6 separate regions of the Homo sapiens genome follow, and regions 2, 3, 4, 5 and 6 are each linked to region 1. The links are contacts of gene promoters, found by promoter capture Hi-C in blood cells and fetal thymus (Javierre and others, 2016). All regions are on one chromosome and are shown on one strand. Each heading gives the region's core, a stretch centred on a gene start or on the middle of the fragment in contact. The rest is flanking DNA. Distances are from core to core; before and after follow the strand shown.

Region 1 (3,748 bases), core at 327-2,826:
CTTCACTCTCTCCACTCCCTCACTTTGTTTCCCAGAATCACCTGCTCAACGAATCACTGGCAGGAAGGCCCTTGTCTTAGGTCAGGTTTGGGGACCCAGCGTATGCCAGCTGGGCTGCTATGGATGCTGCCTTCAGGGCTGTGTGGGGCTCTTGAGGCAAGGAAACATTTTTCAGGGTACCTCCATTTCTCCGGCCAGCCCTTGCTGCTGTCACCTCTCTTGCCTATAACATCTCCTTTCACTCCTTCCACTTCCTTCCCTTGAAAATAAGAAAGGAACAAGACTGTTGCTGCAACATGCCATGCACCCGTGCAGCTGTGTGCACTCTACATGCACAAGCTCATGCAGTCCTCACCACAGCCCCAGCAGGAATGTGATCGTATCTCCATGTCATCATAAGCAAACCAACACCTAAGGAAGCTGTGAACAATAAAGCTCACAAGAAAATGAAATAAGAGTTTTTAAAAATAAAATGTTTCTGTCTCCAAGATCATTTCCAGGATGTCCTGCTGCCTCACCCGGAAACAGAAGGGAAACAAAGAAGCTCGTCAGAAAATAAATGAAAACAAACTGAAACGAGAGCGTCTCCTGTTAGTAACACATATGGGTTTTTGTTTTAAGGAAACATGCTCTATGTTTTGATTGCCCTTATTTCTGTTTTCTTAGCTTCATTTAGCAAAAAAGATATAGGTGGACAGGTGGCAGGATGAACCTTCACAGACAGAAAGTGAACACAGTCAATCGAATCTTCTGTGGCTGGGTACTGACCATCTAGCCACCAGCATTCTACCCCAACCTCAAGCTTCCTCTGTGAATTGTATTCAGTCACTCAACATCCTATATACTAGGTTCTGTGTTAACAGTAACTGGAAGGAGAAAGAAGAGTGGATTTCTTCCCAGAATATGCCAGGTTTCAGCTAATTTCTCACCTCAAGACCTGTACACCTTCCTCCACCCTCGTGTCTCATACCACAGACATTTCTAACTCAGCATGTCTTTAGCTGGATACATTGTCTTTTCCCCAAAAATCCTAACTGTGTCTCTTCCCAGATGGACATCCATGTCAGCAACCTTGGTGCTCCAATAACCCTGCCTACACCACTCAGCCCATCTGGGAGAAACACTGAATTTATTCACCTTAACACGTTAGGTGTGTCCCCGTCAACGATCACGGTGCGTCTTCAACACCCGTGTTTCCATTATTTGGGGGCTACTATAATTGTTTCCACAGCGCCTGATCCTTCCCCAGGCTGAGGCTAGGAGAAGCCAAAGGAATGGAAACGACAAAGATGCCTTCATTCCATTATGCTGCAACCATTGTAGCTAAAGAACTCAAACTGTTAGTTAGTAAGGAGGAAACAAAGATGAGTCTTACCTGATCCCAGCTTGAGGAGACTCAGAACCAAACTGAGCATGAGAGCCATGGATGTGTTCTGTGAATGGACCTCACGGCATGGAAACGGATGACAGGAGAGGTGACGGATGGATTAGAGAGAAGAGGAGAACTGGCCTAATGCTCAAGGTGCGGAAGCCACGGAGAGGCTCTGCGTGAGCGGAGGGCAAACTGCGCTGTTCTGAGAGTCTACTCCATCGAGACACAGCTGTCATGTACCAGAAGTGTAGGGACTCTAGACTTTGAACCACTGCATAAATGTCTATATCTTATCAAGGAAGCAAAGATAGAAATAGTGTGGATAAGATTGGAGGTGAACTTTGTCCTGGGCAAAACGATGCCCTGTGTGGGTGAAACAGGAATGTCAGATGCGGAAATACTTTTCACGTCCAATCTGGCAGGCAGGGCTGTATGGCCATGGGATCTAGTCCTGAAAAACCTCATGTTAGCACTGGATAGTTTGGTGTCCAAGTAAATAGGCCATGCTCCATTAGTAGTAGCCTACAGCAGGTGACTTGACATTTCCTGGCACAGTCTGAGGTCCTTTTGCTTACCCCTCCATTCTCTGAAGTTCAGGGCCAGGACTGTAATCATGAGGCCAGATAAAAATAACTTTCCAGAACAAAACAGATCCTTAGTGTTAAACATCTGATACATTGGGAAAGGTGCCTGGGCAGGTTCAGACATGAGGAAACTTATTTATTATATAAACTAAGTTCCAGGGCAGCCACAATGAGAGATTTGCAGTCTTTTTAAGCACACGGAAACTCACAAAGTCACCACTTAACTAGATCAGAATGAAAATTTCCACAGATAACCATCAAAATAAACATACTCTAATCATAATGCAATTAAAATTAAAAAGTAATTCAAAAACATAGGAAACTCTATACACTAAGAAATTCTTATGTAACAATTTAAAACAACTCACGAGACTAAATCACAATAAAAGTTAGCATCTAGAATAGGACAAAATGAAAACACTGCATTTAGTCTAAAATCTAGAACACTGACAACACCAAATGCTGGTGAGGATGCGGAGCAACAGGAATTCTCACTGATTGCTGACAGGAATGCAAGACGGTACGGTTGTTCTAGAAGACAGTTCAGCAATTTCCTGCAAAATTAAACATACTTTTATCACCTAATCCAGCAACTGCACTGCTTTTTATTCACCTAAATGACTTGAAAACATATGTCCACATGAAAAATTGCACATGAATGTTTATAGCAGCTTTATTCATAATTGCCAAAAATGTTTGCAACCAGATATCATTCAATAATGATACATAGAATGTATACACAAACTATGGTACATCTATACAATGGAATATTACTCTGTGATAAAAAAAAAAAGGAAATGAGTTGTTGAATGTTGTAAGCAAGAGAGTAGAATAGAAAATTATTGATCTCATGCTGTCTCAGAAATACAGATTTACCAAGGATATATAGACCAAAATACCTTTTTATGAAGCTGCTGAGAAGGCACAGTATCCTCTCCATTCCAGTGGCAGCTATGCCCCACCCATGGCCATTCGAAGCCTAGGCCTAGGCCCAGTGGAACGGTCATGACCCAGGCTTCTGAACCTACAGGCTGCTCTGGCCCCCAAGGACCAAACAGTCCAACCCAGCAAGGAAGCCAAGCCTGGCCTGGTGAAGCAGTTGTACCCTCTCAAGCATGAGCCAAGCACCTTGACCCCAGAGAAGCATGCGCAATAGAATGGCAACAATACCCCCTTGTGTGCACACTAACTGGGGGCCCCAGACTCAGCCCCAGGAAAGCAATGTCTGAGATGGTGGAGCAGCTGTGCTCCCTTGGCACATAAAGCGGCCTGGTGCCCCACCTCCAGAAAAGCTATGCCCAAGCCAGAACACTGGTCTTATTCCCTCAGCACACAAACCAGCCCTGCATCCCACCCGAGGGAAGCTGTACCTGAGCTGGTGGAGTAGTTGTGCTCTCTTGGTGCCTGAGCTCAGTGTAATCTACTTTGCTACCACCACTCCCACAAATTACTGCAGTACGGGCCACTGAGGCATCCACTTGTCACTGACATTGATTATAGCTGAGAAGCTTCACAGAGACTACGCTACTGTGCCAGCCAGAAGCAGAGCCGATACACCCTACTCAGCACCCGAGGACCTATCAACAAGTGAAAGTTTTTTCTTAGAAAAGCTACTTTATAAGTTAGGAGAGGCAAATGTTCTACCAGATGCACATATATCAACACAGGGACACAAGAAACATGAAAAAGCAAAGAAACATGACTCTCCCCAAAAAGGCTGAGGCAGGAAAATCACTTGAATCTGAGAGGTGGAGGTTGCAGTGAGCCGAGATCGTGCCACTGCACTCCAGCC
Region 2 (3,706 bases), core at 780-3,279, 150 kb after region 1:
TGGAGTTGAGGGTGAGAATGAGGAGTGATTGCAAACTGGCATGAATTATTTTGGGGGGTAATGGAAATATTCTAAAATAATGGATGCACAAATCTATGAATATATTAAAAGCTATTGAGTTGTACATATTAAGTGTGTGAATTGTATGATATGTGAATTATACCTCAATAAATCTCTTAAAATAAATATATGCTAATTACAACAAATGAAACCCTGTTGTTGTATGAAGAAAAAGTTATCAGTCTTCCCACCTCCTTCCCATATTCAACACCCCTCAACCAATAAGCAGCATTACCATAATCAGTTTGAGGTGAACCTTTCCATCCTTTTCTTTATGCTTGTATAACCACACATATGCACCTATGTTTGTGTTCCAGTAACACTAACTAGCATTGAGTGAATGTCTACCATATGCCAAGCACTTTATATACACTGTGTCATTAATCTGCAAAAGAGAACCACAGGATAAGCCATAATAATATCATCTTACTGAAGGGAAACTAAGGTGCAAGCATATCAAGAAAGCTCTTCAAGGTCACAAAGCTAGTAATGGCACAGCTATTTCTTCTATATTATATTATGACCCCTTAAGTGGATACAAATCATCTTAAATGTTTCTTGTTTTATTTCCTGTGGTATGTAGAACAGCACTCATTGCTCAGTAGATAATTTTTGAATGAATTGATAAATAAATGCATTTTCCTTTTAAATTTATTGTGAATAAAAAACAGAGTATAAAGAAATAAATGTTAATACATGAAGTATACTATGTTTGAAAGCAATGTAAAGCATCAAACTTGTCTTCAAGGAAATTAATACTGAATTGAGTCAATGAGACACATAATGGGGATATATGGGCATTATATGAGGAGCTCAGGGAAGGGAGAGATTTGAGGTGGTGAATATGGTAAGCTCCAAGAGAGATGAGTCATTTAGTCTGAGTGGTGAAGGACTGGTAGGATTTGGGTGAAAGCAGAAGTGTGCAGAATCCCAGGATGCAGAGTCATATGCACCAAGGGAAGAGTTGGGTTCTGAGGACACTGAATAGATTCATTTGATTTAGGCAGAGCATGGGGAATAGAGAGAATTGAGGACTCAAGGCAAATCTTGGTTTTTCAGTCAGTTGATTTTGATTGCCACATTGGGGCCCGGAGGTCTCCAAGGTCATACTTGGTAAACAATTTTCCCCTGACTCCTCTTAAGGAGGCCTTGGCAATGCTCCTGAGGCAGGATTGCTGCTGAGCCTAAGGGTCAGGAGGTGGTTTGGTAAGACACCAGTTCCTCCACGGCTGAGTTGGTTAGGGTGAGTGAGCGAAGGTGCCTGGGGGAGGAGGCTCCTGCCTGGCGGGCAATGGGCCTTGGGCAGTTTTGCCCTGCCCAGGGAGGGAGCCTATGTAACCATCGCTTCTCCAGGACAGGAGCCCTGGGTAAGTACTGACTGGATGGGCCACTCTGACTTCATAGTTAAAAATCCAGAACCTCCTCCTTCACTCAGACAGAGGATGAAATTTTCTGGCTTGAATGTGGCTCTATTATAGTCAGACAATATCATTAAATTAGTAGACTGGCATGAAGAATATGAAGAATATAGTACTACATGCTGTTGAAAATAATTTAAACATGATTTCTGATTTCAATAAGTGTGTTATTTTTAGAAGTCATGCATAGAAATATTTCATTGGGCAATTAGTGGGGGATTCCTTTGTGTAGCATCCCCAGTTTGAGTACATAGAGCTATTAAATTCATGCAAGAACATATTTTATCACTGATAGAGTCTTTCTCTGCCACTTACTCACCCATCCATTCACTCAACTGAATACAGCATGTCAAACAATTTCTTTTTTTTCTCTCCAACTGCATAAACTTAGGGAAATAAGTTTATTTATGTAAAGTGTGAAGCTTAAAATCATTTTGAAGTTTCTTCTAAATCTCAAATTCCATGATGCCAGGGCTCTAGTATGCAAAGTAAATTATAGGCCTCAGTGCCAAGAGACAAAGAATAGAGCAATGGTCAGAGCTGTTGAAGATAAATCCCGGAAGACTTCTTGAAGAACTAGATGACAGAAGGGAATCTATCCTATTTGGAGACAATGTTCTGTGTGGGAATCAGAGTTAAAACAAGCTACTTGTTAATTCAGTCTTTGTTAATTAAGCTTACTGAACTCAAACCGGAGTTTTCTGGTCTTATACTGCGAAATGTGGGTTATTATTAAGTATTTTATAGAAGCGTCTTAAAGATCACCCTAAAGTCTCATGGGGTATGATGAGATATTGTGTGATTCCTCAGGTGAGAGGAACAGGGTCAGGTGTGTCTGCAGAAGAGGAGGATGTGATGGAGGATGAGTGGAAGGAAGGATGTTTTGGTGCCTAGTAAGTTTTGATAGTGGGTTTAATCTTCCAAAAACTAATAAGAGAGCTACTCATGCAGGTGTAATAAAAGGGTGAAATAAGATTCAAATTTAAGGATGAATGTTCTACCAATGAAGGTGTTTCGGAAGGAGTTTGTAGAACCTCCTCCTTCACTCAGACAGAGGATGAAATTTTCTGGCTTGAATGTGGCTCTATTACAGTCAGAAAATATCATTAAATTAGTAGACTGGCATGAAGAATATGAAGAATATAGTACTACGTGCTGTTGAAAATAATTTAAACATGATTTCTGATTTCAATAAGTGTGTTATTTTTAGAGGTCATGCATAGACACACAGATGTACACACAGACACAGACACGCAGAGATGAGCACGGACCAGGCATAGTGGTTCATGCCTATAATCCCATTGCTTTGGGAGGCTGAGGCAGCAGGATTGCTTGACCCCAGGAGTTCAAGACCAGTTTGGGCAACATAGGGAGACCCAGTCTCTACAAAAAATACAAAAAATTACCCAGGCCTGGTGGTGTATGCCTGTAGACCCAGCTTACTCAGGAGGCTTGGTGGGGAGGATCACTAGTGCCACTGCAGTCCAGCCTGGATGATGGAGTGAGACCCCCGTCTCAAAAAAAAATGCAAAAAAACAAAACCCAGAGAGATGAGCACAACCATTGGTCTTTGTAATGCAGAAATTTAACAATATCAAATATGCACATGAAATGCAGGAATGCTTTATGTGTGCCAAAGGGATAAGAATAGGGGTTAAATTTTAAAAAGATAAGTTAAGATTAGAAAACTATCAGGGTTGGATGCAGTGCTCAAAACCACCTAACAAATGTTTCAGTTAATGCAGGAACATTTTCACATCATCCTGAAAAGTCAACTTTCACCCTCTGAATGAGCAGGAAGCTTTCGAGTGATGGGAATATCACATTTCCAGGCAGCCTAGTTTTAGACTGCTTCATTTTATTCACTTTTTTTTTTTTTAATATTGAGCCACAATCTGTTCTCTTGTAAGTTTCGCCTGTTGGTCCTAGTTTTGACCTTTGTAGAAGAGCAATGCAAGTTCACGACATTCTCCACATGAGATCTTTCAACCTGCGTACAAGCCATCAGGCTTGCCTTGGAGACTTCTATTTTCTGATCTAAAAACTCAATTAAAATGCCTAATTTGATAAATATGCTATTCACAATTACCCTGAATTGAGCATTATGTATTGTATACATCTAAATATGTCTCTGTACCTCATATATATGTACAATTATTACGTGCCAATTAAAATAAAATATAAAACACCTATTTCTCATGCAGGGTGTTTCCAGATGACTTATTGGT
Region 3 (3,528 bases), core at 145-2,644, 230 kb before region 1:
TGACAGCTGCTGCTTTCATTTTAGTACAAAAATTAGGGGAGGTTGAAAATTTGAATGTCCTAGACAATAATTTTTTTTTTTGAGACAGGGTCTGGCTCTGTTGCCCAGGCTGAAGTGCAGGGGTGTGATCTCAGCTCACTGCAGCCCTGACCTCATGGGCTTAAATGATCCTCCCACCTCAGCCTCCAGAGTAGCTGGGACCACAGACACGCACCACCGTGCCAGATTAAACATTTTTAAATTAAGATACTCATGTAAAAGACAGTGCTTCTATTTATGCAGGGCAGTTCTCCAAATAAATCAGTTCAGACATCCTAGTAACTTATTTGAGAAAAACGGACATTTCAAAGAGTATCCCCACCTCCCTTAAAATCTGAAAGGACACATAATATGATTGCTGTTAGCAGACTCTTCTCCCTTCTCTACTGTGGGACTCCAAGCCCCAAGTTAGTCTTGATTTAGGCTGTGTCAAGGGGACCAACACTGAATTGAATGTGAGATTCAAATTTTGATTTTCAATGGACTGGATTTTAGAATATATAAATGAGCCTTCGTCTTACCACCCAAAGTCACCAGAAAACTCTTGATCTGCATGAGATGTCATGAAGATGTGGAGAATGAATTGTGATGTCTTATTTAAAAGCAGTGGCTGTACAAAAATAAAAGTGTTTCCTTGTTTGCACATGATCAAAAGTTCCCCCTGAATAATACGATAAAAGGCAATACAAGAGCTGTCAGCAGGCCATGGACATACGCTGCCAGAGTGTAGACAGGAAGCCATGGCCGGCGGAGGTCATGGTGGATTGAGTTCCGGAGGAATCTGAATGGAGGTGGGCTTGAGCTCGGTCTTGGGGAATTAGATAAGGCTGAAGAGTAACAGAGGAAGAAGACAGAGGAAGTGCCGGTGGGGAGAAGTGGCTGGAGAAAAAGTGTGAGTGTGGAAAGCGTTGGGTGCATAGGAGGATAGAGGAGAAGGCCGGTGTGGGAGAGGAGTGGGAGACGCTGCAGGTCCAGTCCTCAAAAGCCAGCCTGCCCCACTCCAGCTGCGAGGTGGCCATTCCCTTCCTCCCTAGTCTACCTCTCTCTGCCCCGGTCTTCCTGTGTCTCCCTCATGGCCTCCTCGCCTGCATGTTCCTCAGACTCCTGCCATAGCTGGAAGCTGGATCAGGAAGAGGGCACACACCAAAAGTGTGGTAGCAAAGACACACAAGGAAGTCGAGATTCAGAAGGAACAAACGCCTCTGGTGTCTGAGCCATGTGGCAAGGGGATTTCAAGCACATTGGCCCCTGAGAAAATGGCCTGCTTCCATGGGACATAAATAGCCACAGAGTGACCATAAAATGCATCCTCCGATGTGAAATGCTCTTGAGAGTAAAAGGCAGTGGCAGCATCAGAACCGTGGACTTCAGCCCCATCCCCAGCAGCCCACGAAGACACTGACCCTGCAGAAACGCCTGTCAGGTTTATGAGGATCCCAACCAGGCCCCCAGGCTCCACCCGACTCTCGTGAAGGTGGGGCTGTTCTTTCCCTCCCACGAGGCTGTAGACCCCTTGAGCAAGGACTGTGTCCAGAGCCCCCCACCCAGTGCTTTGCATGTCACGGGTGATGTAGGCTGACTTAATGGGGGCAGGTGAAGGACAGGTGTGGGGTGCAGCGAGGGCCCAAGGGACAGCTGTGACATGGAGACCCCATGAGGGCCCTGGAGGTCGCTGGGAAGTGCTGATGTGTGTGTGGGGGGGCAATGTAGGGCACCAAGAATGTCCTCCGCATTCCTGTATTCCTCTGCCCTGCGTTCCTCCTCCCCCAGCTGGGTTTCCTCACGCTGTCCCCACTGGCCCTGCTCCTGTTCCTGTCCCCAGGTCCCTCTGTGGGTCTTTTTAATTGTAATCTTGGGAGCACCTCTTCCAGGGCTGGAGTCTGTGGGGTCCCCTGGGAGCTGAGGTCTGAAGTCAGCTTCCCCTCTTCACCCCGTGTCTGGGTTCAGTACCTGTGTGGGCAGTGGGAGGCGGTTCTGCCACCTGGCCAGAGCCAGGGTGTCCTGGAGGCAGGTGGGAATCCTGGGTGGGCTCAGGGCACTGCTCCTGGCTCCACCTCTCCTGCCAGCACCAGCTCCTTCCCTGAGCCTGTTTCTCCCTCTGAGAGGAGGCTGTGGTCTGTGTGAGCCTTGCTCTCTGAGCCTGAGGGGCCACTGGAGGCTGAGGGTGCCGTGGGCTCCACAACCCGATGAGTAGTCGGTGCGGGCTGAGGAAGGAGGTTGGGGCTGCGGCTCCTCCTGTCCCCCGACCCAGTGGGAGCAAACACAGGAGGATGAGTGCATGGCTCTGACGCTAGGAACTCCTCCACAGGTGACTCTGCTGAGTTTGTTCCCCTGCAGGGACCCACCCACAGGTGAGTGAGGGTCTTGTCCTGTCGTCCCCTCTCTCTTCCCTGCAGCTCCTGCTCCCATTGCTGGTTCACGTCCCCATTTATCTTGTTCATCAGCACTTGCTCTTCCTCCTGCTGTCTGCCTCCATCAGGGTGTAACTGTTTCGTGTGGGTGTTTGGAGGGGCATCCGTCTTCTGGTGTGATGTTTCTCCTCACTCTTTCTTCTCGTTCTCTTCCTTTGACCCACCTCTCTCTCTTTCCTTGGTGTCCTACTCCCCTTTTCCCGTCCCCCTCCCTCTGTCTGGGTTGGAGACTGGGCTCTAGGTCCCTGGGGTGGAGGATGGTCCACAGCAGGAAGACAAGGACAGATGTGTGGGGAGTGCGAAGGTGAAGGAGCAGGAAGGAGGGGGCTGATGTGGGACGGGGTCCTCCCGTGCCGGGGAGAATATTGCAGAGATGCAGTGGCTTCTTCTATGTTGTGGTTTCTAGGAAGAAAAGTGAAGCCATTAACTAAACACCCAACGGAAAGGTCTGAAATTAGAGAGCAGGAAGATAAGCCAGTGAGAGGCAAGAATAAATTCTGTTGTGTTTCATAATACAATTTTTTTTTTCTGAGACAGGATCTTGCCGTCTGTGTCCTGAGAGGCACAAGTGGCTGGTGCCTCTGAACATGGTGGTAAGGCTGGGAGACCGTTCTTCTGCTGGGGCATCTGGTGTATTTTGCTGGTTGATATGGCTGAGAGGGTGCTTGGTCGCTGTGGGAACAGATTTGCTCCTGTAGAAACCCCCTCCAAATCACACAATGTCATAGCTCTATCATTCAGGCTGGAGTGCAGTGGTGTGATCGTAGCTCACTGCAGCCTCAAATTCCTAGGCTCAAGTGATCTGCCTCAGTCTTCCAAGTAACTGGAACTACAGGTGCACACCACCACGCCCAGGTAATGTTTTATTTTATTTTTATTTTGGAGACAAAGCTCGCTCTGTCACCCAGGCTGGAGTGCAGTGGCGTGAACATAGATCACTGCCAGCTTGAACTTTCAGGCTCAAACGATCCTTCCACCTCAGCCACCTGAGTAGCTGGGACTACAGATGTGTGCCACAATAGCCTGGCTAATTTTCTCTGTTTTTTGAATAGAGATGAGGTCTCGTTTATGTTGCCCA
Region 4 (3,729 bases), core at 288-2,787, 210 kb before region 1:
CGTCTCATCAGCAGGTCTGAGTTTTTTTCCCAGTTCCAAATTAAATCAGCCCCCTTTGCGGGTGAGACTACTGGTTTTCAAGGCCGGCCCAGCCTAGGATATCAGGGCAGGGTGCCAGAATGACAGCAGCTCCAGGCAAGAAGGCTGCAAAGTCCTGCTGTTCTAACTAGAAGTTCTGGCAGCTTTTTATTATGAGTATATGTTTCTCCATTTGATGATTTGCCTTTGGTCAATTTTGAGAGCTCTGAAATGATCGCTCTTGACAATTTTGTCCCATTTTATACTTTTGGGTGTGGGAACAGATTTGCCAGCTTCTGCCCTCTGCCATGCCTAGAGGCCCACACTTCACTATTTTTGAGTGTATAACGTGGATAGACCATGTGCTGTGTACCCACACCCCTAGTGATCACATTTGAATTGTTTCCTTCCAGGTTTCCTATACTATGGTGATGTAAGGAACAACCATACATGTCTTGGAGCATATATATAGATGTTTCTGCCATGAAAGCATAATCTTTGAAACATTAACAACACATATACATACTGTGTATCTCATCAATATGTCATGTACTTATACAGCAAACACACGCAAAGGCGTATAGCTCATTGATGAGGGAATTGTCAGGATGGCGAGTCTGAGTCACGGGGAGTTAGAGAAGTGGGGTTATGCACTCAGGGAGGAAGAAGGATGGATACAAATGCTAAGTTTGATACAAAACAGGTTAATAAATTCCAAGGCAATAAACCTGTAGCTGCTGGGCTATCTTTTATACACAACAAGAATCATTTAGATCTCAACCCCACAGGGCTACACCTTATCATCCAATGTCTCAGTGAATTTTAACAAGTAGTAAACAGCAAGTCACAGAAAGCTACCTTCCCCTGGGGCTGAGGTTCTGCACGCAGCAGCAGCATCTCCTGGGAACTTGTTAGAAATGGAAATTCCTGGACCCCAGCCCAGACCTAGCAAACAGACTCTGAGGGGGAGCCCAGAGATAGGCGTTTTTATTTATGTTTTATTTTTTTGAGACAGGTTCTCCTCTGTGGCTCAGGCTGGAGTGCAGTGTCACAATCATAGCTCACTGCCGCTGTGGCTAAGTTTTTCTTTTATTTTTTGTGGAGACTAGGTTTTCCTCTTGTTTCCCGGGTGAGTCTTGAAATCCTGGCCTCAAGGGATCCTCTGGCCTGGACCTCCCAAAATGCTGGGATTTTAGGCGTGAGCCACCGCGCCTGGCCTGAGATTTTAAGTATCTTAACACACTCTCAGCCAGGTGTGTGGCTCATGCCTGTAATCCCAGCACTTTGGGAGGCTGAGGCAAGTGGATCACTTGAGCCCAGGAGTTCAAGACCCACCTGGGCAACATGGGGAGACCCCGGTCTCTATGAAAAATACAAAAATTAGCCAGGTGTGGTGGCAAGCAGCTGTGGTCTCAGCTACTGGGGAGGCTGAGGCAGGAGAATTGTTTGAGCCTAGGAGGTCAAGGCTGTAGTGAGCTGAGATGGCAACACTGCACTCCAGCCTGAGGAGAGCCCCCTGCAGTAGGGAGGGGGCTGTTGCAGTAGGAGGTCCATCCTTTGACAGCAAGAACCCCTGTCCCAGGCTACAGAAAGGGCTTCACATTTGCAGGGAGGCGTCAGCAAGGCTAGAAAGACCGCGGCAGGTGGGGCGGGATGAGCAGTGACAGATGGGACAGTGCACCGGGGAGTGTTCTCCTGAAACTGAGATTCTGAGGAGGGGCTGTTAGAGGGGTTCCCATGCTGCTCAAGGTGGGCCAAGGTCACAGCCTGTGGGGAACCAGGAAGCCTGACTAAAGTATGGACAAGTCAACAGGCATTTTATCCAGATTGGTCAGTGCGGACAAACAGTTCAGCTAGTCACTCATGAGTTGAAGATCGGGAATTTGGAGGGTCTGGATCTGGCCTCATCGTTGGTCAACAGGGGTTCACCATCCTGCCTTATCCATGTGGCAGGGGAAAGGCCTACAGGAGGGTGGGGCATTTCTTCTATTTTCTTTTTAATAATTTCAACTTTTATTTCGGATTCAAGGGGTATATCTGCAGGTTTGTTACCTGGGTATATTGTGTGGTGCTGAGGTTTGGGGTATGAACGATCCCCTCACCCAGGTGCTGAGCATAGCACCCTATAGCTTTGCAACCCTACCCTCTCCCTTCCTCCCTCCCCGCTAGGAGTCCCCAGCATCCCTTGTTGCCATCTTTACGTCCATGACTACCCAGTGTTTAGCTCCCACTTACAGGTGAGAACATGCAGTATTTGATTTTCTGTTCCTTCCTTAACTCACTTAGAATGACGGCTTCCACTGCATCCACGTTGCTGCAAAGGACATGATTTCGTTCTTTTTGATGGTTGTGTCATATCCCATGGTGTCTATGTACCACACTTTCTTTATGCAATCCACCGTGGACGGGCACCGTGGCTTCGCTATTGTGAACAGCACTGCGATGAAAATACAAGCGCCAGGTGTCTTTTTGGTGAAACAATTATTTCTTTTGGATGTAAACCCAGTAATGAGATTGCTGGGTCAAAGGGTAGTTCTAAGTTCCTCGAAAAATTTTCAAACTGCTTGAGAGGGTGGAGGATTTCTTAATAGTCGCCGTTTCCCAGGAGCTCAAGGCTCAGGTGGAAGTTTACTATTGTCAGCATCACACCTTGTTTGTCCATTCTCCACTGATGGACACTGGGGAAGTTTCCAGTTTGGATGTCTATGCAATAGAACAGTGCTGCTGGGAAGGTTCTTGCACGGGTCTTTGGTGACCATAGTGGGGTGGATGCTGCGATGCCCCATGCAGATCCCTCCACCCAGACCAGACGCACCCCTCGATTGGGAGCACAGCCTGCACTGAACCCCTCTGTAGGCATTGCCCTGGGGGAAGGGAAATGCCTCACCCAGGGCCACGCCTCCTCCCTGGAAGCAGCCAGGACCCAAAGACTGATTGGAACAGGGGCACAAAGGCCAGGCCCTCCCACCTCAGCCTCACCTCCACTGGACGTTCCTGCAGGCCCCTCCCAGCAGCCCTGGGGTGGGCTGAGGCCTCAGTGGTAACTGTCTTGCCGCTCAGCTCCTCCCTCTGCCCAGTCACGCCTCCCTCCCTCCCTTGAAGATGCTGATCCCAACAGCACTCCCCCAAAACCTTCCTGCACATGAAGCTCTGCTTCAAGGCCGGGCACGATGGCCCTTGAATCCCACAACTTTGAGGGGCCAAGGCAGGTGAATCGCTTGAGCCCAGGAGTTCAAGACCAGCCTGCACAACGTGACAAAACCCCTTACTTACAAAACAACAACAGGAAAAAAAACACAGAAAAAAAATTAGCATGGCCTGGTGGTGTGTGCCTATAGTCTCAGCTACTCGGAGGGCTGAGGTGGGAGGATCGCTTGAGTCTAGGAGGAGGAGGCTGCAGTGACCTGTGATCGAGCCGCTGCATTCCAGTCTGGACAACAGAGCAAAACCCTTCCAAAAAACACAAACAAACAAAATGAAAAAACCAAGTCTCTGCTTCAGAGTCATCTGCTGGGAGCCCAACCTAAGGGTCAGGCGTGAGTTTCCAGTGGGCATCATGCAAGTCAAGGTGCTGGGGCGTTGTCTGCATGAGGTTCCCACTGTGGGTCGTTAGAGCCAGACCAGAGCATGCGTCCAGGTCAGCCCCAGCACACCCGAGGAGCCTCGGTGTTTTCACCAGTAAACAAGACAACAGAACCTACCGTGCAATGA
Region 5 (3,559 bases), core at 39-2,538, 180 kb before region 1:
AAGCAATCCTCCCGCCTCAGCCTCCCAAAGTGCTGGGATTACAGGTGTGAGCCACCACACCAGCCTGCATATTTTTTAATTGAATTGTTTTCTTATTGTTCAGTTTTTTTTGTTTTGTTTTGTTTTATTTTATGAGACAGAATCTTGCTCTTTCACCCAGCTTAAAGTACAGTGGCATGATCATGGCTTGCTGCAGCTTGCAACTCCCGGGCTCAAGTGTTCCTCCTGCCTCAGCCTCCTGAGTAGCTAGGACTATAGGCAAGTGTCACCACACACAGCACATTTAAAAAAAAAAATTTTCTCCCTATGTTTCTCAGGCTGATCTGGAACTCCTGGGCTCAAGTGAACCTTCCAACTCAGCCTCCCTAAGTGCTGGTATTGCTGGTTAATACAAGTGCCTCGTTAGATATGTATTCAGCAAATATTCTCTCCCGGTCTGTGCCTTGTCATTCCATTTCCCTAACAATGTCTTTGCAGAGCAGAAGTTTTTAAGTTCAGTGAAGTCCAACATACCCGTTTTTCTTCATAGATCATGGATCATGCTTTGAAAAACTTCCCCAGATTTTCCCCGGGTTCTCTTGTAAAAGTTTTGTAGTTTTGCATGTTAAATTTAGGTCTATAATCCATTTTGAGTTCATTTCTGTGAGAGGTGTAAGATCAGTGTCTGGATTCATGTTTTTTTCCTTTTTTTTTTTTTTTGGCACATGCATGCCTAAATATTCCAGCATCATTTCTTGAAAAGACCATACATTATCTGTTGAATTGCTTTTAATTCCTGTCAAAATATCAGTTAAGTATATTTGTGTGGATCTGTTTGTTCTCTATTCTTCTTCATTGATCTAGCTGTCTATTCCTTTGCCAACACTATACTTTCTTGATTATTGTAGCTTTATAGTAAGCCTTTAGGTAGTATTAGTCTTCCAACTTATTTCTTCTTCAATACTGTGTTGGCTCTCCTGGGTCTTTTGCCTTTTCATATAATGTTTAGAATCAGTTTGTCAGTATTTATAAAATAACCTGCTGGGATTTTGATTGGATTACATTGAATCTGTAGATGAAATTAGGAAGGATTGGCATCTTTAAAAGATTGAGCTTTCCTATCCATGAACATGGAATATCTTTCCATTTACTTAGAACTTTTTTTGATTTCATTAGATTTCCTTATATGGACCTTGTACCCATTTTTTTGATTTATTATTAAGTACTTTTTAAGTGCTAATGTTAGTGTTATTGTATTTTTAATTTTTAAATCCCAATTGTTTATTGCTGGCATATAGTAAAGCAATTGACTTTTGTTTATTAACTTTGTGTCCTGTATTTTAAAACTTATGATCTTTAAAATGGAGAGCAACCCTTCAATGATTAGGAGAGACACAAAATAGAAATAAAGATTTTATTACTTATAGGTTCTGGTAGTATATGACATGCTTGGAGGCCCCCCACACAGAGAGGTTAGTTTAGGGAGTACAGGCAGGGAGAAAGAATGCAGAAATTAGAAGTGTATGTTGGAGAATACACTGTGGGTGGCTTTAAGTTCAAGGGCAAATACCTGAATGGTCCATTTAAAGGAAGCGGTGGGAAAGTGGGGAGCCCAGTCAACTAGGCAGAAGAGGTTCCTCCAAGGTTTTTATCCTTGGCCACTGGCTTGGGCCATTAGGGTGTGGTGTTCTTCTAATACGTAGGCAGAAACCTCTGCTGTGTCAATACCATTGAAATTGACCCTGTAATGTCTAGGCATTAGACCTTGTGCCTTATCATGGGTGCCATTTGAGTAGCAGAGACACTAAAGGCTACTGGAGAAACCTGAGTCAGGCATCTGATGAGCATAATTAAACAAGCAGTCCGAAGGTACCCACTATGACTTGAAATCTCACGTGCAGCCATCCATCCCACTACATAGAGTATGCAGGGCTAGTCGAGTGGGCTGTATGTAGCTGTGCCATGCGGAGGTGGGCACCGGGAGGCAGCTGTGCACAGCAGATATCTGGACTGACCACCTTGAGGAACTGGGAGGAGATGTAGAACCTGAAAACTGTGTCAAGGGTGACTGAGCTCTCCTTCCGGCATAGGAAAGTTAAACTTCCCTGAAAAATGGGTGCTGAGGCAACATAAAATTATGATAATTCACTACATAGTAATCTTGCTGTAATCTGGCTGGTGCAGTGGCTGATGCCTGTAATCCCAGCACTTTGGGAGGCCGAGGCAGGCAGATCACCTGAAGTCAGGAATTCACGACCAGCCTTGCCAACATGGTAAAACCTGGTCCCTGCTAAAATGACAAAAATTAGCTGGGCGTGGTGGATCGTGCCTGTAATCCCAGCTACTCTGGAGGCTGAGGCAGGAGAATCGCTTGAACCCAGGAGGCAGAGGTTGCAGTGAGCCAAGATCAAGCCACTGCACTCCAGCCTGGGCAATAGAGTGAGACTCCATCTCAAAAAAAAAAAAAAAAAAGAAAGAAAAGAAAAGAAAAAATCTTGCTATAATCATCTGCTAGTTCAGGAGTTTTTGGTCAATACTTTGGTATTTTCTACATAGACAATCATGTCATCTGTGAAGAAAGACAGTTTCTTTTTTCCCCCTGATCTGTATAGCTTTAATTTCCTTTTTAAAATCTTCTTGCATTAGTTAGGACTTCAGTACAATGTTGAATAAGAATGATAGTAGGGGACATCCTTGCTCCTGATCTTAAGGAGAGAACACCTAGTTTCTCACTAACCATTAAGTATGATGTTAGCTAGTTTTTTTTCTGTGGATGTTTCTGTGTGTGTGTGTGTGTGTGTGTGTGTGTGTGTCTTTCTTTTTAGAGATGGAATCTCTCTATGTTGCCCAGGCTGATCTCAAACTCCTGGCCTCAAGCAATCCTTCTGCCTTGGCCTCCCAAAGTGCTGGGATTTTAGGCATGAACCAGCATGCTCTGCCTATAGATGTTCTTTATCAATTTGAGGAATTCCCCTCTATCCTAGTTTACTGAGAGTTTGTATCATAACTAGGTGTTGAATTTTGTCAAATGCTTTTCTGCATCTATTTATGTGATCATATGATTTTTCTTGCTTAGCCTGGTGATGGCATGAATTACATAGTTTTTTGTTTGTTTGTTTTTTTCGAGAGAGGGTCTCACTCTGTCGTCCAGGCTGGAATGCAGTGGCACGATCAGGACTCACTGCAGCCTCGGCCTCCCGGGCTCAAGACTTCCTCCTGCCTCAGCCCCGAGTAGCTGGGACTACAGGGATATGCCACCATGCGTGGCTAATTTTTTGTATTTTTTAGTAGAGACAGGGTTTCGCCATGTTGGCCAGGCTGGTCTGGAACTCCTGAACTTAAGTGATCTGGCTGCCTCAGCCTCCCAAAGTGCTGAGATTATAGGTGTGAACCATCTTGCCCGGCCTTGATTTGATTTAATACATATGAGTCTTTTCATATTGTCTCTTTTCTTAGTGTGAATTTCGGTAGATTGTATCTTTTAAGGAATTAGTCTATTTCATCCAAGTTATCAAATTTGTGAGCATAGTTGTTGAACATATTTTATTATACTTTTAATGTCCCTGAGATCAGTAGTAAT
Region 6 (3,741 bases), core at 336-2,835, 160 kb before region 1:
TACAATGAACATCTGTCGACCAGTCACCTAGAGTCACCAAGTGTTGTCATTTTACTACATTTGACTTGTCTCTTTCTTTCTTTATATTCATATGTTTTATATTTTTCCACTTAGTCACTGGAAATTCAGTGGCAGACACTGTGGTAATTAATATCTAAAAACTTCAGTATGTTTGCTAAGAACAAGAATGTTCTCCTACATAGCCACAGTACAAATGTCTCACTCTGAAAATGAAGCCAGGCACAGCGGCTCATGCCTGTACACCCAGCATTTTGGGAGGCCCAGGTGGGAGGATTGCTTGAGCGCAGGAGTTTGAGACCAGCCTGGGTAACAAAGTGAGACCCCCGTCTCTATAACGCACTTAAAATTGGGCATGGTGTTGTGTGCTGAGGTGGGAGGATCACTTGGACCCAGGAGGTTGAGGCTGCACTCCAGCCTGGCCGACAGAGACAATGTCTTGGGGGTAGGGGGTGAAGAACACTTCTTTCCCCAGTTGTCAAACTAATAATGTCCTTGGTCCCATCATTGATGATGTTAAATTTAATCACTTGGATGATCTGGTAGATGTCTCCATTGTAAAGGTAACCTTTCCCCTTTCAAACTTATAAGTAGTGTATAAGGTTACTGCTTTGAGACTGGAAACAGCCTGTTCTCCAAGACTCTCACCAATAATTAGATTTCACCTCCAAAAGAAACCTTCCTGTTTCTCCTTTTTAAAAAGAAATTTGAGTATCAGCATGAACTCATGGATTATGTTTTTATTCAGTGTGTTATAATCTCTCCTGTCATTATTCATCCTGATGTTCAAATTGTCCCACAATTGGTCAGTGAGGCCCCTTCGGCCTGGCTCCCTACCCTTTTGCCGGGTTGCCGTCACGTTTTGAGCCTTTATTTTACTTCACCACACACAATGCTCCAGGCTCACCTTGAAATTTTTGCCCCGGCTCCAGAAGCAGCTGTTCCTCCAACTTCATTTTAATGGGAAATGGTTTTTAAAACTAGGATCTGAGCCTTACTTAGGTGAACTCGTTGCTTACGAAGTGTTATTGCATCTCGACCTTTTTAGAGCTAGCAAACATATACAAAAAATATAAAACTATACAAATTAACTGATCCCTCTAAGGCAGTCACCAAAGTTTTCTCCCTTCTTTCTTCCATGCTGGCTTCTTGCCCACCGCCCACCGTGAGCACCCCAGCTCTGAGCGACGTGGATATATTTGTACTCCTTCGCTCAGTCCCACAATCCACAAACGAGCTTTGGACTTGTCTCCTTTCCTTGAAGAAAATCGCACTACACATACACATCTACGTAGGCAAAGGTCCCTCTCTTTGTCCCCCTCGCTGACATTTTGGCTGGTGCACCTGCTCCCTTCAGACGGAGCAGGAGAGCAAAGCGCTGGCCTGGGATCCAGGGGGCCCCCCGGGGCCAGTCCCGCGGCCACGAGGGCGCCTCACCACCAGTCCAGGGCGGGGTCCGCGGGCTCATAGGGCTGTAGCCAGGTGTCACTGTCGTTCTCTTCGGGGACGCCCGTCCCTCTAACCGGCAGCGGGCAGATGGTCAGGGGATCCGGATGTTCGCCGCCGTCGTGGGCCCTGGGCCTGAAGTACGCACAGAGCGCGCCCGAGAAGGTGTCGTGGAAGGTGAAGATGTGGGAGCCGTCGGACACGTTGAAGAAGGACAGCTCTCCGGCCTCGTAGTCCAGGAAGACGCCCAGGCGCCGCGGGGGCACGCGCAGGGTGAGCGCGACGCGGTGCGGGGCCAGGACGAAGTACTCGCAGCCGTTCCACAGCCCCAGCACCCAGTAGCCGGCCGCAGGGCTCAGGCGCGCAGGCCCCGCGCGCGGCACCGCGGCCAGGCAGGCGCCCAGGAACCAGCGGCTGCGGCGGCCCACGTGCACCTCCCAGTAGTGGCGGCCGGCGGAGAACCGCTCCAGGCTCAGCGCGCACGTCTGCTCCGAGAACCGCTGCGGGTGGCCAGGCGCCGGGCCTGGCGGCGCCCCGCGGGAAGACACGCTCTTGCCATCCTCCGACACCTCCAGGCTGGGGTGCGCCGAGGCCGGGTCCAGCGTCACATCCACTGCGCAGAGCCACAGCGTTAGTGCCCGCCCGGGACGGTCTGGGCCCCGTCCGTGTCTTCCCCAAGGCGGACAAACCTCTCGTTTCTCTTGGTGGAATAATCGAGGAAATGAACCCCTTACCCCGACCCTCACCCCTGCAAACCCCCTCCCCAGGACTGAAGTGGCATGTGTCAGTCACTCCTGAGTGTTTGATAGTGACAAGGAATCCTGTCCTTTCCTGAACTGGAAGGTCCCTGAATTCCATACCAGAGATAGCAAAGGAAGTAGGCTGGCGGGGAGGGAGCCACGTCCCGGTCAAGGGGAAGGACCTATGGGCTGGTTCTAGTTCCTGCTGGTGGCACCACCCTGCGTGACCTTGGCATAATCAGGAGAGCGCTGAGCGTCATTTTACAGAAATTTTGGATTTTTTTTTTTTTTTTTTACATACAGTCCTTCAGAAAAGTTTTTAAAAGGATTTTAAAAGGACCTTTGAGATCATCTAGTCCAGTGCCCCACATTTCAACACCCCATGCCATCTGACAGATGGGAACCTAGGGGACCCCTTCGTCAGAGAATCTGGGAGGTTCATTACAGACTCTGCACTCTCGCCTGCAAATAGCCTCAAGCCAGATGGAAACAAACCTAGTGTAACCCCAAGGAGCGATGTGTTTGGGAGCTCACGTGTGCATGTGTGTGCATACACATGCAGGCATATGTGTCGTGTGGCGTGTTTGCAAGTGTGCGTGTGTGTCTTGTGTGTGCAGGCCCCATACTTGGCTCCTATAAAGCCCCGTCCTCTAATCTCAGATCTCTCCACCTCCCTTCTGTTTAAGATCCGGCCAAACCAAAACACAAATCAGTTTCCTGGCTTCAGTTACCTGCATATTTTTGGGCTGCTCTCCACTCTGAAACCAAACAGAAAAGGGGAAAAAAGCTCAGAAATCTCAGTCAGTAACTCTGGAACCTTAACGAAGTCTCCAGATGTATGAGGGATGCATGCAGATCGAATGACCCCATTCCCACTGTGACAACTGGTTTGAATCCAGACTGGTCTTGGGGTTCACCATGTATTTTCCTGAGAAATTTTAGATTGAGTAGAGGCCTGTGTCATTGATACCAGAGCTACGTGCAGGCTGAAATTCTGCTGGAAAAAGCAGGAGAGTGGAGCATGTAGGTAAAGAGACTCTATAAGCAGCCTGGATGCCCTGAGAGACAGAAGTGGAGCCTCAGCCTCTGACCCGCCAGGCTGTGCCCAGGAGGCCCAGCTGAGCCTGACGGGTCCCAAAGATGCCCTCCAGATGTCCTGTCTTTTCCTGGCATGCCTCCATTCTTAATGTGAATCAATCTGAGTGGATTTCTGTTGTGTTTTATCTTGTTTTGTTTTGCAACAAAGATATCACCAAGTCACAAAAGCAAAAGCAACACAAGACGTTCTCAGAGCTCCAGATATTTACAGCAAGGCTTTGCTGCCCCGGTTTTGCGTCAGGATAACTGGTGAAGCTTTAAACACCCTAGCTCTTGTGTGGAATATCTCAGTTCTACAAAGATGTTGATTTTCCCTAGTTTATCTGTAAGTTCAAAGTAATCCTATGTAAAACTCCTTTTGCATTTTTTGGGGAGATTTATGAATTTATCCTAAAATTTATATTTTAAAAATGTTCATTCACTTTAAAAAAGGAAGTGG

The links. Contacts are between HindIII fragments. The CHiCAGO score rates a contact against its expected background, and 5 or more counts as called.
Region 2: a contact is called between a fragment that was not itself captured here and the fragment with the promoter of BTNL8 in region 1, in 2 of 17 cell types (naive B cells and erythroblasts). The highest score is 5.3, in naive B cells.
Region 3: a contact is called between the fragment with the promoter of OR2V1 here and the fragment with the promoter of BTNL8 in region 1, in 10 of 17 cell types (naive B cells, M2 macrophages, total B cells and 7 more). The highest score is 7.0, in naive B cells.
Region 4: a contact is called between a fragment that was not itself captured here and the fragment with the promoter of BTNL8 in region 1, in 4 of 17 cell types (total B cells, M1 macrophages, naive B cells and 1 more). The highest score is 6.0, in total B cells.
Region 5: a fragment that was not itself captured here is called in contact with the fragment with the promoter of BTNL8 in region 1 in 4 of 17 cell types (naive B cells, total B cells, endothelial precursors and 1 more); the score reaches 6.4 in naive B cells.
Region 6: a contact is called between a fragment that was not itself captured here and the fragment with the promoter of BTNL8 in region 1, in 7 of 17 cell types (naive B cells, total B cells, erythroblasts and 4 more). The highest score is 10.2, in naive B cells.

Annotation. Positions count from the first base shown.
Region 1 is chr5:180,896,987-180,900,734 of GRCh38, reverse strand. BTNL8 (butyrophilin like 8) reads right to left here and starts at 1,576. Exons shown (of 8, transcript NM_001040462.3): 1 at 1,376-1,576. The coding sequence starts at 1,424. The HindIII fragment of the contact is 2,662 bases long and covers 805-3,466 here.
Region 2 is chr5:180,746,467-180,750,172 of GRCh38, reverse strand. No RefSeq gene overlaps it. Among named protein-coding and RNA genes, the nearest start is that of OR2Y1, 8.3 kb to the right of the region's middle. The HindIII fragment of the contact is 254 bases long and covers 1,903-2,156 here.
Region 3 is chr5:181,129,035-181,132,562 of GRCh38, reverse strand. OR2V1 (olfactory receptor family 2 subfamily V member 1) reads left to right here and starts at 1,394. Exons shown (of 4, transcript NM_001258283.2): 1 at 1,394-1,513; 2 at 2,348-2,390; 3 at 2,988-3,043. RefSeq lists an enhancer at 2,107-2,608. The HindIII fragment of the contact is 15,941 bases long and covers 1-3,528 here.
Region 4 is chr5:181,109,072-181,112,800 of GRCh38, reverse strand. No RefSeq gene overlaps it. Among named protein-coding and RNA genes, the nearest start is that of TRV-CAC1-3, 8.6 kb to the right of the region's middle. The HindIII fragment of the contact is 7,483 bases long and covers 1-3,729 here.
Region 5 is chr5:181,079,743-181,083,301 of GRCh38, reverse strand. No RefSeq gene overlaps it. Among named protein-coding and RNA genes, the nearest start is that of TRV-CAC1-2, 16 kb to the left of the region's middle. The HindIII fragment of the contact is 5,034 bases long and covers 1-3,559 here.
Region 6 is chr5:181,057,573-181,061,313 of GRCh38, reverse strand. It overlaps BTNL9 (butyrophilin like 9), which reads right to left. Exons shown (of 11, transcript NM_152547.5): 10 at 2,936-2,962; 11 at 1-2,077. The coding sequence ends at 1,452. Among named protein-coding and RNA genes, the nearest start is that of MIR8089, 16 kb to the right of the region's middle. The HindIII fragment of the contact is 3,949 bases long and covers 1-3,559 here.